Regions from separate parts of the Homo sapiens genome. Here regions 2, 3 and 4 are each linked to region 1. The links are contacts of gene promoters, found by promoter capture Hi-C in blood cells and fetal thymus (Javierre and others, 2016). All regions are on one chromosome and are shown on one strand. Each heading gives the region's core, a stretch centred on a gene start or on the middle of the fragment in contact. The rest is flanking DNA. Distances are from core to core; before and after follow the strand shown. Region 1 holds the start of ALPK3 (alpha kinase 3). Region 2 overlaps PDE8A (phosphodiesterase 8A). Region 3 overlaps PDE8A (phosphodiesterase 8A). Region 4 has its middle 170 kb from the start of PDE8A.

Region 1 (3,149 bases), core at 436-2,935:
CAAAGGGAGAACTTTTTTGGTACACAGATTCCAAGGAAAGTTTGAACTGCCAACCTGCAGGAAGGCCAGGGACAAAGCTGGAACCCAGGAACACCTGAACGAGGGCACCTGAAAGCCACCAGGACCCTGTGTCCTTTGCCTCTGCTTCTCTCTGTGCTAGCTTCCTTATTCCTCACTGTAAACTGGCTTACTCTACAGGGCAGGAAACATGGCTGCTGACAGCTGTGGCCTCACAGCTCAGTTTTCCACCACAGAGGGTCTGGTTTTCTTTCCCAATTCCAGTTAAAAATGTTTTAGAGAAGAACTTTATTGGCACAGCCAGGGTCTATAGTCAGGGAGATTGGGTACCGTGAATAGCCTGGCTTGAGTTTGATGGCAGTCAGCTGAGGCCAGGAGTGGGATCATGTGGGAACAAGGTAGTTGCCATTGGAACCACACGGAGTAGGGGAAAGCCATTTCCAAAAGGAGTAGGGATGGGTGCAGCTTCGAAAACAGAAGGGTTGGACTCCTTTGCTCCCACTTTCTAACAATTACAGCCATTTAGCTTCAGGTACTTTCTGGATGCTCTCAGGAAAATAGGAGAAAGAAGGATGGATAAAAAAGTCTGTGGGCACTTCCGGCCGGGCGCGGTGGCTCACGCCTGTAATCCCAGCACTTTGGGAGGCCCAGGCGGGCGAATCACGAGGTCAGGAGATCGAGACCATCCTGGCTAACACGGTGAAACCCCGTCTCTACTAAAAAATACAAAGAAAAAAATTAGCCGGGCGTGGTGTGGGGCGCCTGTAGTCCCAGCTACTCGGGAGGCTGAGGCAGGAGAATGGCATGAACCCGGGAGGCGGAGGTTGCGGTGAGCCGAGATAGCGCCACTGCACTCCAGCCTGGGCGACAGAGCCAGACTCTGTCTCAAAAAAAAAAAAAGTCTGTGGGGACTTCCAATATTTAGACCAGGTTTCGGCAGTGCTTGGCACTAGTTCTTGGAAATTGTTGCATGATTTGATTATTTTTCTGGGTATCAGGACTCAGCCCATTTCCCCCTCTGGTGCTGAGAAATGGAGGCCGAAGGAGTGATCTAGAAGTGTTAATTGAGCCCCTAATCTATGCTAGTTACTGGGGGTGTTGGGGGAGACAGGAGAGAGATCCCACGGGGTTCCGGCCTCCCAGGGACTCAGGTCACTAATGGAGGTGGCTTGGCTTGTCTATGTGCTGGGCCAACAGCCACTGGCGAGGCAAGGCGAGGGTCAGTCACGGCTGGTGCCAGGAAGAGGGCTGGTTCTTTGGCTCCCTGGTCTCCCGCGGTCTAGCCCAAGCTGGCCAGCGGTTGACCTGGCTCCCCTGGCCCCGGCCAGGCCTCGTGGACCCCTCATATGCCACACGGGACATGAGCAGGCCGGCCGGGAGCCGGGTCCCGGGAGCTCCACGAAGGGGCCTGTCCTCCATGACCAGGACACCCGCTGCGCCTTCCTCCCGAGGCCTCCCGGGCCTCTCCAGACGCGGCGCTACTGCAGACACCAGGGCCGCCAAGGGAGCGGACTCGGAGCCGGCCCTGGGGCGGGCACATGGGCCCCGGCGCCCCCCGGCGTCTCCAAGCCGCGCTGCCCGGGTCGGGCCAGGCCAGGGGAGGGACAGCAGCAGGTGACGACGGCCCGGCCACCGGCTATAAATAGGGGCGCGCGTCAGCCGCGGGCGGGAGCGGCGGCGGCGGGCAGGGGCCCGGGGGCCGGGGCCTGGAGGACAGGCGAGGCAGCGGCGAGTGCGGGGCCGGCGGTCGGGGAGGGCGGTGCCATGGGGTCGCGGAGGGCCCCCAGCCGGGGCTGGGGCGCGGGTGGGCGGTCGGGGGCGGGGGGCGACGGTGAGGACGACGGCCCCGTGTGGATCCCCAGCCCAGCCAGCCGGAGCTACCTGCTCAGCGTGCGGCCCGAGACCAGGTAAGTGGCACCAAGGGGCAGGGCGGCGTCGGGCCGGCGATGCCCTGGGATCAGTCCCTGTGAGGGCGGCCTGGCCCCTGGAGGCCTGGGCTGGGCCTGCGCCCTCGAGCCCTCTCAGCCCCAAGGCCCAGGGCCTGGGGACATGGCCGGGCTGGAATGGCTTTCATAGCCCCTTGTGACCCCTCCTGATCCATGCGCCTCAGGCCTCTGGCAATTCGAGGCTCAAGAGAGGACAAAGGCTCCACTTTGGAGTGATTTCATGGGGTCTGAAGGCTTTCCTTATCTCCCCTGCCCCCTACCCTGCTACTCCCTGGCTTGGGATTCCACAGCTAGCGATAAGGAAAGCCAGAGTGGCTGAAATTCCTCCCTGGCAGGAAGGGAGGGGGAGAGCACTGGTGGGGACAGGGAGAGGGTGCTGGGGGGCTGCCCAGAGTAGGAGCTGCTTAGCTCAGGGTGGGGAGGTTCTCCAGGAAGAAATAAACCTTTGTAAATAAGGTTCCTCTACTGGGCCGAGGACTTGGGTCCTCCCCAGGACCTGAGTGGGGGCTGGTGAGATAGGGGGTGGGATGAGGTACTGTCTGGAGATGTTGGGAATTAAGGACTTGCAGCTCTGAGGGAGCCAAGTGCCCTGTCCAGTTTGGGGAAGTGAAATGCCAAGGGAGGTGTGGAACTGATGAGCCCTTCACTGGTCTTCCAAGAGTTCAAGAGGTGTGGAAGCTTTGTTTTAGCAGCTAGGCCACCCACAGATATAAAGACACAAAGACAATAGACAGGCATCCAGGAAATCAAAGGCACACAGGCACACGTGGACAGGCGCATTGCCATGGAGACAGACACTTCCTGCCCCCTGTGGGCAGCTCAGTTTCCCTTCACTTCTGGAGTCTGTTTTCCAAAGGGAAATGTGTTGAGATAGTGGTTGTTTCATAGCCTGAGAACTTGACTTGTGTATTATGCAGAAAACGGCCATTCCTCCAAGAGGCTGTCCAGAGACCTCTTGTTCTCCATTCCTAAAACAGCATAAAAACAGGCATCGAGGACATTCAGGAAAAGTCCTGGGCACTTCCTCGTGAATTGGCTGAGTCCTACTGACCTTGGAGTTGGGAAAGTTCAAATGTAACCGGAACCGGTTTCTGCATAAAACTCGTCAAATGGTGTCACATGTCTGGGGCAGGGCTGAGGACTGATGTTAGTGACTGAGTCAGACTCAACAAGGCCCCTGGCTGC
Region 2 (3,091 bases), core at 434-2,933, 260 kb after region 1:
AAAGATGAAACAACAGTGTAAAATCAGTGAGAAACACAAAGTCAGATAGAAAGAATAGAAGCAGGCTGGGCACGGTGGCTCACGCCTGTAATCCCAACACTTTGGGAGGCTGAGGCAGGTGGATCACCTGAGGTCAAGAGTTCCAGACCAGCCTGGCCAGCATGGCGAAACCCCGTCTCTACTAAAAATCCAAAAATTACCCGGGCATGGTGGCGCACACCTGTAATCCCAGCTACTCAGGAGGCTGAAGAAGGAGAATCCCTTGAACCCAGGAGGTGGAGGTTGCAGTGAGCTGAGATTGCACCACTGCACTCCAGCCTGCACAGTGGGAGCAAGACTCCATCTCAAAAAAAAAAAGAAAGAATAAAAGCAAATGTATATGAATGGGCTGAATTCTTCCTTTAAAAGATAGGCTGTTAGATTGGGTTGAAAAAGTACAATTCTATAACAGTTACAAGACACTTAACATGATAAAAGGAGCTTAAGTAAAAGAACATAGAGGTAGCAAGTAAATGCAGACAAAAAGAACACAGATATTGATATTGATATTAATATCAGATGAGGTGGAATTTAAGATTTTAGTTTATATGTAAATACAGTTTTATATAAAAAGCACACATTAGGTTATTGATTATATAGCTGTGGCTTTCTTGTGTTTCCCCCTTTTTGGACAACCCCCACAACATACATACACATCAGCACCTACCTCCATTCCCTGACCTCTAGTAATTCCTGTTAAATTGTATGAGAACAGTTTACTTAGCCAGCAGTAAGGCGTCCCAGGTTGGAAGTCAGAAGTCCCCTATGGATCTTTATGTCATCCCTCCCTAAGCTGCTTGCTTTTGCAACTAAGGCCGCAAAACTGGCTATTCCTTTTAACAAGAACCTTAGAAGCTTCCACTTTCTAGTGAAACTTAGGGGATAGATTATTCCCTCTGCCTTGGGTTATTTGCTTACCTACAGCCGCATGAGGTCATTAAGGCTTGTGTTTGTTTGAGGTCTCTTTGAAAGTACATAGATGCACTGTTGGAAATTTGTGCCTGGTGACTGCCGTGTTTGAAATTCTGCCCAAGAAGTCTATCAGCATAGTTCTGTGGACCAGAAAGAGCATCCTGGTAGAAGGTCAAGTAAATCATGGTCCTTATATTTTCTTAGTATTACTGTGTTATCATGGAGCTAACTTGAAAAGTAACTGACACACACACTCTTGCTGCCTCAAGCCTGCACACCTTAATCAAAATCAAGGAACCCCCTGAAGACTTCAATGGAACCACTTTTAGGTGCACGCCCCTGTGAGGACACGTCCATGCAAAAAGCCCAAAAAGCTTTACAGTAGTCACTTTAGAAGCACCTGACTTAGGAAATGTAGAGGTAGTGGCAGGCTCTCCATTTTGTAGGTGAGGAATTCATGCGGTCAACCAGTCCTCAGAGACCACTAACTAATTAGTGCTAACTAATCTCATCCAGAGTCTCTTACTTTTGTGTGACAAAAGGATGCTCAGGTTACTGAGAAGAAGAGTTAGACCTGGAGGAAGGGGATTCTCCCAGTCATGGCTGTAGGCGGTGGTGCCAAGGCTTGAATCTGAAAGCTAACACCATAATGATATCTCTGGTACAGGGGATGGGGCATAGGAAAGGCCATGAGCTATTTTGTGTTTTAGCCATGTTTCAGGATTGAAAAGTAGGTGGAGGACCTGCTAGCTTCCTCAATTGGATTTGGCCATTGAGTCGGTAGACTCACTGCTGGGTGCACATTAGAATCACCTGAATAACATCCCTAGGGAGTCTGTTTCAGTTGGTCTGGGGAGGGGCCTGCATGCTGGTGTTTTTTCAAATTGCAGATAATTCTAATATGCAGCTGAGAGTTGAGAACCACTGGGAGAGGCCTAGCAAAGATGGGCTCAGGTCCTAGCCGTGGGTGTGATATGCTTTGGAGAAAGTGAGGTTAAGTTAGCTTAGAAGTCTAGGATTTGTAGTCCCAGCCCCTTTCGTGGAAGAAGGTTAAGGGAGAGGAGACTAACCGCTGTTTAAGCAGAGGGAATAAGCTTGCTTTCTGAGGATCCCTGGACCTGATTCTTCACCCTCCATGCCCTGTGGGATCCTTGGGACAGAAACAAAAGTTGGCAAGGGGCAGGAAAGATGAGATGTTTAGATAAAGAGAACAGTGTTTAAACACGCATAGCAAAACAAAAGTTTTGAGGGAGGGGGCAAACAGGAGCAAGATGCTGTACATTTGGTCACATGCTAGTTTTTTTTACCTTGATTTCTGCCTTTGGGGTAAAAAAGTTTGGTGGATACATAACATTCAGACCAATTAAAAAGTCTGATTGCATGCATGGGAATCCATTTGTGGAAATGGATAAATACACATTCCCTCCACAGCCCTCACATCCCCTCCACAGCCCTCACATCCCAGAATCTTACCTGCGGAGGAACTGAGGACCCCTGTCTATCTCAAGGCCCCGATTCCATGTCTCCTGGAGTGGCACAAGCACTATGTCAAGAAATCTCTTTTCCCTGTCCCTGCCCAATCAGAAGTGGGTTCCTGTCCAGTGTTTTTGGGTGTTCCCATGGGGTCTTGGCTGATGGAGGTGTGGACAGCAGGTCTAGCATACTCCTCCCTTCTCAGTCGGTGGGAGCTGGCAGGCATGTCACCTCTGTCAGACCTCTGGGTAAGAAAGGGGCTCTGTTTTGGCCTATAGGTATAAGGTTTATCATGCTCCTGGTCAACAGGTCTTGCCTTCCCCTGTGGGGGTGACAGTAGCTGTTCTTTACATTTATGCAGCAGTTTGTACTTAAAATGCTTTCTCCCATCATGTCTTTTTATTCTCGGTGACCTTCATTGGGTAGGAACAGTATTATTTTTCTTGCTTTACAGTTGAGGAAACAGGCTCAGGAATGTTAGGTGCCTCATATACAATCATACAGCTTTTAAGGCACGAACCAAGGGCTAGATTTTTAGGTTGCTTGACACCCAGACAAGACCCTGATCACAGTTCAGACGGGTCATTTGCGTTCACCGTGGTAGTAGAAGGAACTCTTTAAGGGGACCCCTGTCCCAGATTGGTCTGGCTGGGGCTTATAGATAGTG
Region 3 (3,001 bases), core at 216-2,715, 300 kb after region 1:
AGCCCCAGTCATCCTCATCTGGGTGTGATCACAGAGAGTGGGAGCAGGAATGGGGTTTTGCCTTGAGTTTTTTCCCTTGCGGGAGAAGAGCTGTTAACCAAAGGTGGTAGTTGGCTGGGCACACAAGAAAGGGAGGTCCACAGAGCTGATTCCAGCCAGGACTGCCCACTAGGGTGTCTAGGCAGAGGTGTGCTCGGTTGGGCCATGGGATGGCTCCTCAGGTCTCATCTCAGTCTGGGTGACCTGTCCCCAAGATAACTCCCTGACTTTTTCAGGCTCCCCTTGAGTTAACCTTCTGATACGTTCTACTTCCCTATCTCCCAGCACAGCCAAGGAGAGTTGAAAAGAATACTCCCTGGGCACATGAGTCTTTGAGCATCTGGTTTACATGCTAGTGACATTACATCCATGTGAATTGGGCTAAGGCAGGTCAGTTTAAGTCCTGTGATCACTTCTGGATACTGCCTCAACACAGCCAGTTTCTTGGCCTTCACAGGCAAGGGCCAGATGCTGGGTCAAGGTGATTTCTCAAGTAAGAACCTAACTTGGTGGCCAGCTGGAAACCTCAGGGGAAATCCCCTCATACTTTTAACGCCCACCTCCAGAAAGGTGGGTGTTGAGAAAATTCCATTGCATACGGCAGTGTCTGGCTTATATGACATTTTCAGGAAATGTTTTCTTATAGGCAGGATGTCTGGCCAATGGCATGGGTCCAGCAAGTCCAAAGGAGAGGATAGTGTTCAAGGTGGTACAAGCTTAGCCTGGAGAAAGGGTTATTTTGAGGAACCCACTAGTGCAAGTAGGAAGCTGAACCTGGAAGGACAGAATGAGCAAACTCCCCCCAACAAATCGGGAGCCCCAACGAGGCTGAGGTCAGAGCTGCTGTGGGCAGCCAGCTCTCACCCGTGCATCATGGTCCCCTGAGGGCAAGAAGTGGAACCAGAGTTGGTTGGCCCCACCAGAGAGAGGCCAGCACAGCCCAAGCAATCTCCACTTTGCTGCCCTGCACTCTCTGAAATTTGGCTTGGAACCTATTCAGGCCTTAAACACTTGGCCTGTTTGTTTGCTTTGTTCTAATATTGTGGGGTTTTTTCTGTCTATAGGCCTTTGATTTATCTTGGTCTCAAAATGTTTGCTCGCTTTGGAATCTGTGAATTCTTACACTGCTCCGAGTCAACGCTAAGATCATGGTTACAAATTATCGAAGCCAATTATCATTCCTCCAATCCCTACCACAATTCTACACATTCTGCTGATGTGCTTCATGCCACTGCCTATTTTCTCTCCAAGGAGAGGATAAAGGTGAGCTGTTGTTTACCTGCCACATTTAATGGGCAGGAGCAGTGGGGAGAGTCTAGTGCTTCTGCCTCCACTAAGATACATAGCATGACTGCTCACGTGTGCAGCCTGGCACAGGAAGGGCAAGGTCATACGAGGAATCAGGCAGGAGGCCACATTAGCTTTGGGAAATTGATGTGTTAATTCATGACATAATCCCAGCTATTCCATGAGGGTACAAGAGGCAGAATTTGGTCCCGGAGGAGAAACCTAACAAGGACAGGATAGGGCTATTCTTCTGGGGGTCTCACTCCAAGCCTGTACACTAGTAGAGCCAAGTAACTGTTGGATATCCCCACTTTAGGGCCTCCATCTGTACATGAAAGTCTGCAGGGCTCTAAGGTCAGGTTCATCATCTCTGTTCCCAGCACTGCTCCCACCCAGGGTTATCTACCTAATCCAGGGTTCCATTATCCAACCGGATACCCAGATTAGAAACCGAGAGTCATCCTTGGTTCTTTCCACTCCTCAACCCCCCACATCTGGTTGATCATCTGACCTTGCCTCCTGTCACACCTAAATGTTCTCAGATTCATCTCCTGCTGCTGTCCCAGTGAGGCCCCCCGCAATCCTTTCGCATCTGGGCAGTTCCAAACTAGAATTCTTGCCTGCCCTGCCTCCCATGGAATGCCCTTACCCTACTGCCAATGTGATCTTTCTGAAACAGCATACCTGATATTGTCATTCCCAGGAGCAGCTTCCCACCTCCCTCAGGATTTAAACTTTAAACTCTACAGCTCTCCACACTCACCTCAACAATGAGCTCCTCTCATCATTTCTTCTCCTTTGTCCCAGTCACAGGCCACTTTTGGGCCATGCCAAACCACTTTAGTTTCTGAAGCTTCTGCCCTTGACCTGTTGCTCCCTTGACTGGGGCCTAAGATGACTGCAGTCATGCAGGGCCAGGGCAAGTGGCTCCTGGCTGCATTTCCTCCTCTGTATCACGGGACTAGCATTTGGCAGAGAGCAAAGCAGAAGATGACATCTGGCACACACAGGGAGTGAACAAGTGTTCATTCCTCACCTTGAAGGGTAAACCTTCTCAGAACTTTCCGTGCTCCCTCTGGTTCTTATTTCTGTTTTTGTTTTTTGTTTTTTTCCAGAAAAAATCAAATCAGACTGTAGGTAAAATAGGGTGTCCAGAGAAGGGGACTGTTTTCTAAATTATGAAAACAAGTAACAACAGAGGGACATCTGTGTCAATATGGCTCAGCATATAAAGAACCCAATTTTTGCTGTATTGCTTTTAAACTACTCTATAGACAACATACAAATATATATTTAGAGAGCTAACTGAAAACAGTTTATTAGAGCATTTATTGAAATGTCATGGTGGCTCACACCTGTAATCCCAGTACTTTGGGATACCAAGGCAGATGGATCAGGAATTCGAGACCAGCCTAGCCAACATGGTGAAACACCATCTCTACTAAAAATAGAAAAATTAGCTGGGCATGGTGGTGCAGGCCTATAATCCAGCTACTTGAGAGGCTGAGGCAGGAGAATCACTTGAACCCAGGAGGTGGAGGTTGCAGTGAGCCAAGATCATGCTATTGCATTGCAGCCTGGGTGACAGAGCAAGACTCTCGTCTCAAAAAAAAAAAAACATTTATTGAAATGTAATTCACATACCATACTATTTGCGCACTTAAAATTTAAATTA
Region 4 (3,033 bases), core at 379-2,878, 330 kb after region 1:
AAAAGATAAAGGAATACTATGAATAACTCCACACCCACAAATTTGATAACCTAGATGAAAAGGACCAATTCGGCCGGGCATGGTGGCTCATGCCTGTAATCCCAACACTTTGGGAGGCCGAGGCAGGTGGATCACTTGAGGTCAGGAGTTCAAGACCAGCCTGGCCAACATGGTAAAACCCTGTCTCTACTAAAAATATAAAAATTAGCCAGGTGTGGTGGCAGGCACCTACAATCCCAGCTACTCAGGAGGCTGAGGCAGGAGAATCGCTTGAATCTGGGAGGCGGAGGTTGCAGTGAGCCGAGATCATGCCACTGCACTCCAGCCTGGGCAGCAGAGTGAGACTCAGTGTCAAAAAAAAGAAAGAAAGAAAAGGACCAATTCTTTGAAAGACACAATCTGCCAAAACTCACAAGAAACAATCAATCTGAATAAGCCTATATCTATTAAAGAAATCAATAATTAATAACTTTTCAAAACAGAAAATGCCAGGCTCAAATGGGTTCACTTGTGAATTCTGTTAGACATATAAGGAAGAAATTATACCCTTATTTTACAATCTGGTTCAGAAGATCAAAGCAGAAGGGATACTTTATAACTCATTATATGGGGCCAGACTCATACACATACCAGACAAAGACATGGCAAGCAAATGACAGACCAATATCTTTCATGAACCTAGATACAAAAATCCTCAACAAAATATTAGCAAATAGAATCCAGCAATGTGTAAAAAGAATTACACTTCACAACCAGATAGGATTTATCCCAAGTATGAAAAACCACAGTTATCATACTGAATAGTGAGAAACTAGAAGCTTTCCTGCTAACAACAGGAGCAATGCAAGGAGGTCCCTGTCACCATTCCTTTTCAACACTGGACTGCAGTCCAGTGCAGAGAAAGGATATACTGAATAAGAAGGAAGAAATAAAACTGTGTTCGCAGATGACATGATTACCTATGTAGAAAATCCAAAAGAATAAAAAAACCTGGAATAAGCCATTATGGCAAGGTTACAGAGTACAATGTTAAAAAACAAAAGTCAGTCACTTTCCTATACCAACAATAAGTAGAATTTGAAATTAAAAACACAATAGTATTTATGTTAGCCCCCCCACCTCAAAATGAAATACTTATATATAAATCTAACAAAATATATACAAGATCTTTATAAGGGAAACTACAAATCTTATATGAAAGAAATCAAAGAAGAGCTGAATAAATGAAGAGCTATTCCATGTTCATAGATAGGAAGACTCAATATTGCCAAGATGTAATTTCTTCACAGCTTCATCTAGATTCAATGTAACCACAATCAAAATCCCAGCAAGCTATTTTGTGGATCTTAACAAACTGATTTTACAGTTTACTGGAGAGGCAAAAGACCCAGAATAGCCAACAGGATACTAAGGGAGAAGAACAAAGTTGGAAGACTGATACTACCTGACTTCAAGACTTACTATAAAGCCACAGTATTCAAAAAGATGCAGTAGGGCGAAAGAATAAATAGATCAATGGAACAAAATAGAGTGCCAGAAATAATGGACCCCACATAAATATAGTCAACTGATATTTGACAAGGGAGCAAAGCAACACAATGAAACAAAGACAGTTTTGTGTTTTTGTTTTTGTTTTTTTTTACTAAATTGTGCTAGAATTGAACATCCACATACAAAAAAAAAAAAAAAAAGAATCTAGACACAGACCTTACAACCTTCACACAGATTAACTCAAATTGGCTCATAGGCCCAAATATAAAATGTAAAACTCCTAGAAGACAGCATAAGAGAAAACCTAGGTGAGCATGGGTATACTGAAAACTTTTTAGATACCACAACAAAGGCACATTCTGTGACGGAAATAACTGATCAGCTGGATTCCATTAAAGTTAAAAACCTGCTCTGTAAGAGAATGTGAAGAGGATGAGAAGAAAAGCCACAGACTGGGACAAAATATTTGCAAAATGCACATAAAGATCCAAAATATACAAAGCACTCTTAAAACTCAGCAATAAGAAAACAATCTGATATTAAAATGGGTCAAAGATCTTCACAAAGACTTCACCAGAGAAGATCTACAGATGGCAAATAAGGATATAAAAAGATGCACCACACCATATGTCATCGGGGAAGCACAAGCTAAAACAACAGTGAGATACCACTACACACCTGTTAGAATGGCCAGACTCGAGAACACAGACAACACCAAATGCTGATGAGGATGTGAAGCAACAGGACGTCTCATTCATTGCTGGTGGGAAGGCAAAAATGATACAGCCGCATTGGAAGACAGTTTGGTAGTTTTTCACAAAACTAAATGCAATCTTACCAAATGATCCAATAATCATGTCCTTGGTATATACCCAAAGGAGCTGAAATTTTATGTTCACATAAAATCCTTCACATGAATGTTTACAATGGCCTTATTCATAATTGCTCAAGCTTGGAAACAACCAAGATATCCTTCAGTTAGTGAATGGATAAACTGTGATGCATCCAGACAATGGAATTTTATTCAGCACTAAAAAGAATTGAGCTATCAAGGAATGAAGAGACACAGAGGAACCTTTAATGCATATTACTAAGTGAATGAAGCCGATCTGAAAGGGCTACATACTGTACGATTCCAACTATTGACAGCCTGGAAAAGGCAAAAGTGTAGAGACAGTAAACAGCTTAGTAGTTGCCATGGGGTAAGGGGACACAGAAGCAAAGCACAGCAGATTTTTAGGGCAGTGAAAATACTCTATAATGGTAGATGCATGTCATTATACATTCGTCCATACCCACAGAATGTACAACAGCAGAGTGAATCCTAATGTAAACTAGGGGCTCTGGGTGATAACGATGTGTCAATGTAGGTTCATCAGCTGTAACCAATGTGCCACTCTGCTGGGGGAGTTGCTAATGGGGGACGGCAGAGGGTATGGGGAACACCCATAGTTCAAAAACTTTTGAAAAGCTTCTTCTCAATTTTGTTGTAAACCTAAAAACTGCCCTTAAAAATCAAGTTTTGTTTGTTTGTTTGTTTTT

Evidence for each region. The method cuts DNA at HindIII sites, captures the fragments that hold promoters and counts their contacts. A CHiCAGO score of 5 or more calls a contact.
Region 2: a fragment that was not itself captured here is called in contact with the fragment with the promoter of ALPK3 in region 1 in 1 of 17 cell types (naive B cells); the score reaches 5.7 in naive B cells.
Region 3: a contact is called between a fragment that was not itself captured here and the fragment with the promoter of ALPK3 in region 1, in 1 of 17 cell types (naive CD8 T cells). The highest score is 5.5, in naive CD8 T cells.
Region 4: a contact is called between a fragment that was not itself captured here and the fragment with the promoter of ALPK3 in region 1, in 1 of 17 cell types (M2 macrophages). The highest score is 5.2, in M2 macrophages.

The regions. Positions count from the first base shown.
Region 1 is chr15:84,815,671-84,818,819 of GRCh38, forward strand. ALPK3 (alpha kinase 3) reads left to right here and starts at 1,686. Exons shown (of 14, transcript NM_020778.5): 1 at 1,686-1,925. The coding sequence starts at 1,783. RefSeq lists an enhancer at 784-1,314. The HindIII fragment of the contact is 9,413 bases long and covers 1-2,640 here.
Region 2 is chr15:85,079,568-85,082,658 of GRCh38, forward strand. All of the region lies in intron 5 of PDE8A (phosphodiesterase 8A), which reads left to right. Among named protein-coding and RNA genes, the nearest start is that of PDE8A, 99 kb to the left of the region's middle. The HindIII fragment of the contact is 720 bases long and covers 1,324-2,043 here.
Region 3 is chr15:85,116,538-85,119,538 of GRCh38, forward strand. PDE8A (phosphodiesterase 8A) reads left to right here. Exons shown (of 22, transcript NM_002605.3): 17 at 1,104-1,302. Among named protein-coding and RNA genes, the nearest start is that of PDE8A, 140 kb to the left of the region's middle. RefSeq lists an enhancer at 1,653-1,822 and a cis regulatory region at 1,738. The HindIII fragment of the contact is 1,424 bases long and covers 754-2,177 here.
Region 4 is chr15:85,147,819-85,150,851 of GRCh38, forward strand. No RefSeq gene overlaps it. Among named protein-coding and RNA genes, the nearest start is that of PDE8A, 170 kb to the left of the region's middle. RefSeq lists an enhancer at 1,882-2,051. The HindIII fragment of the contact is 1,624 bases long and covers 817-2,440 here.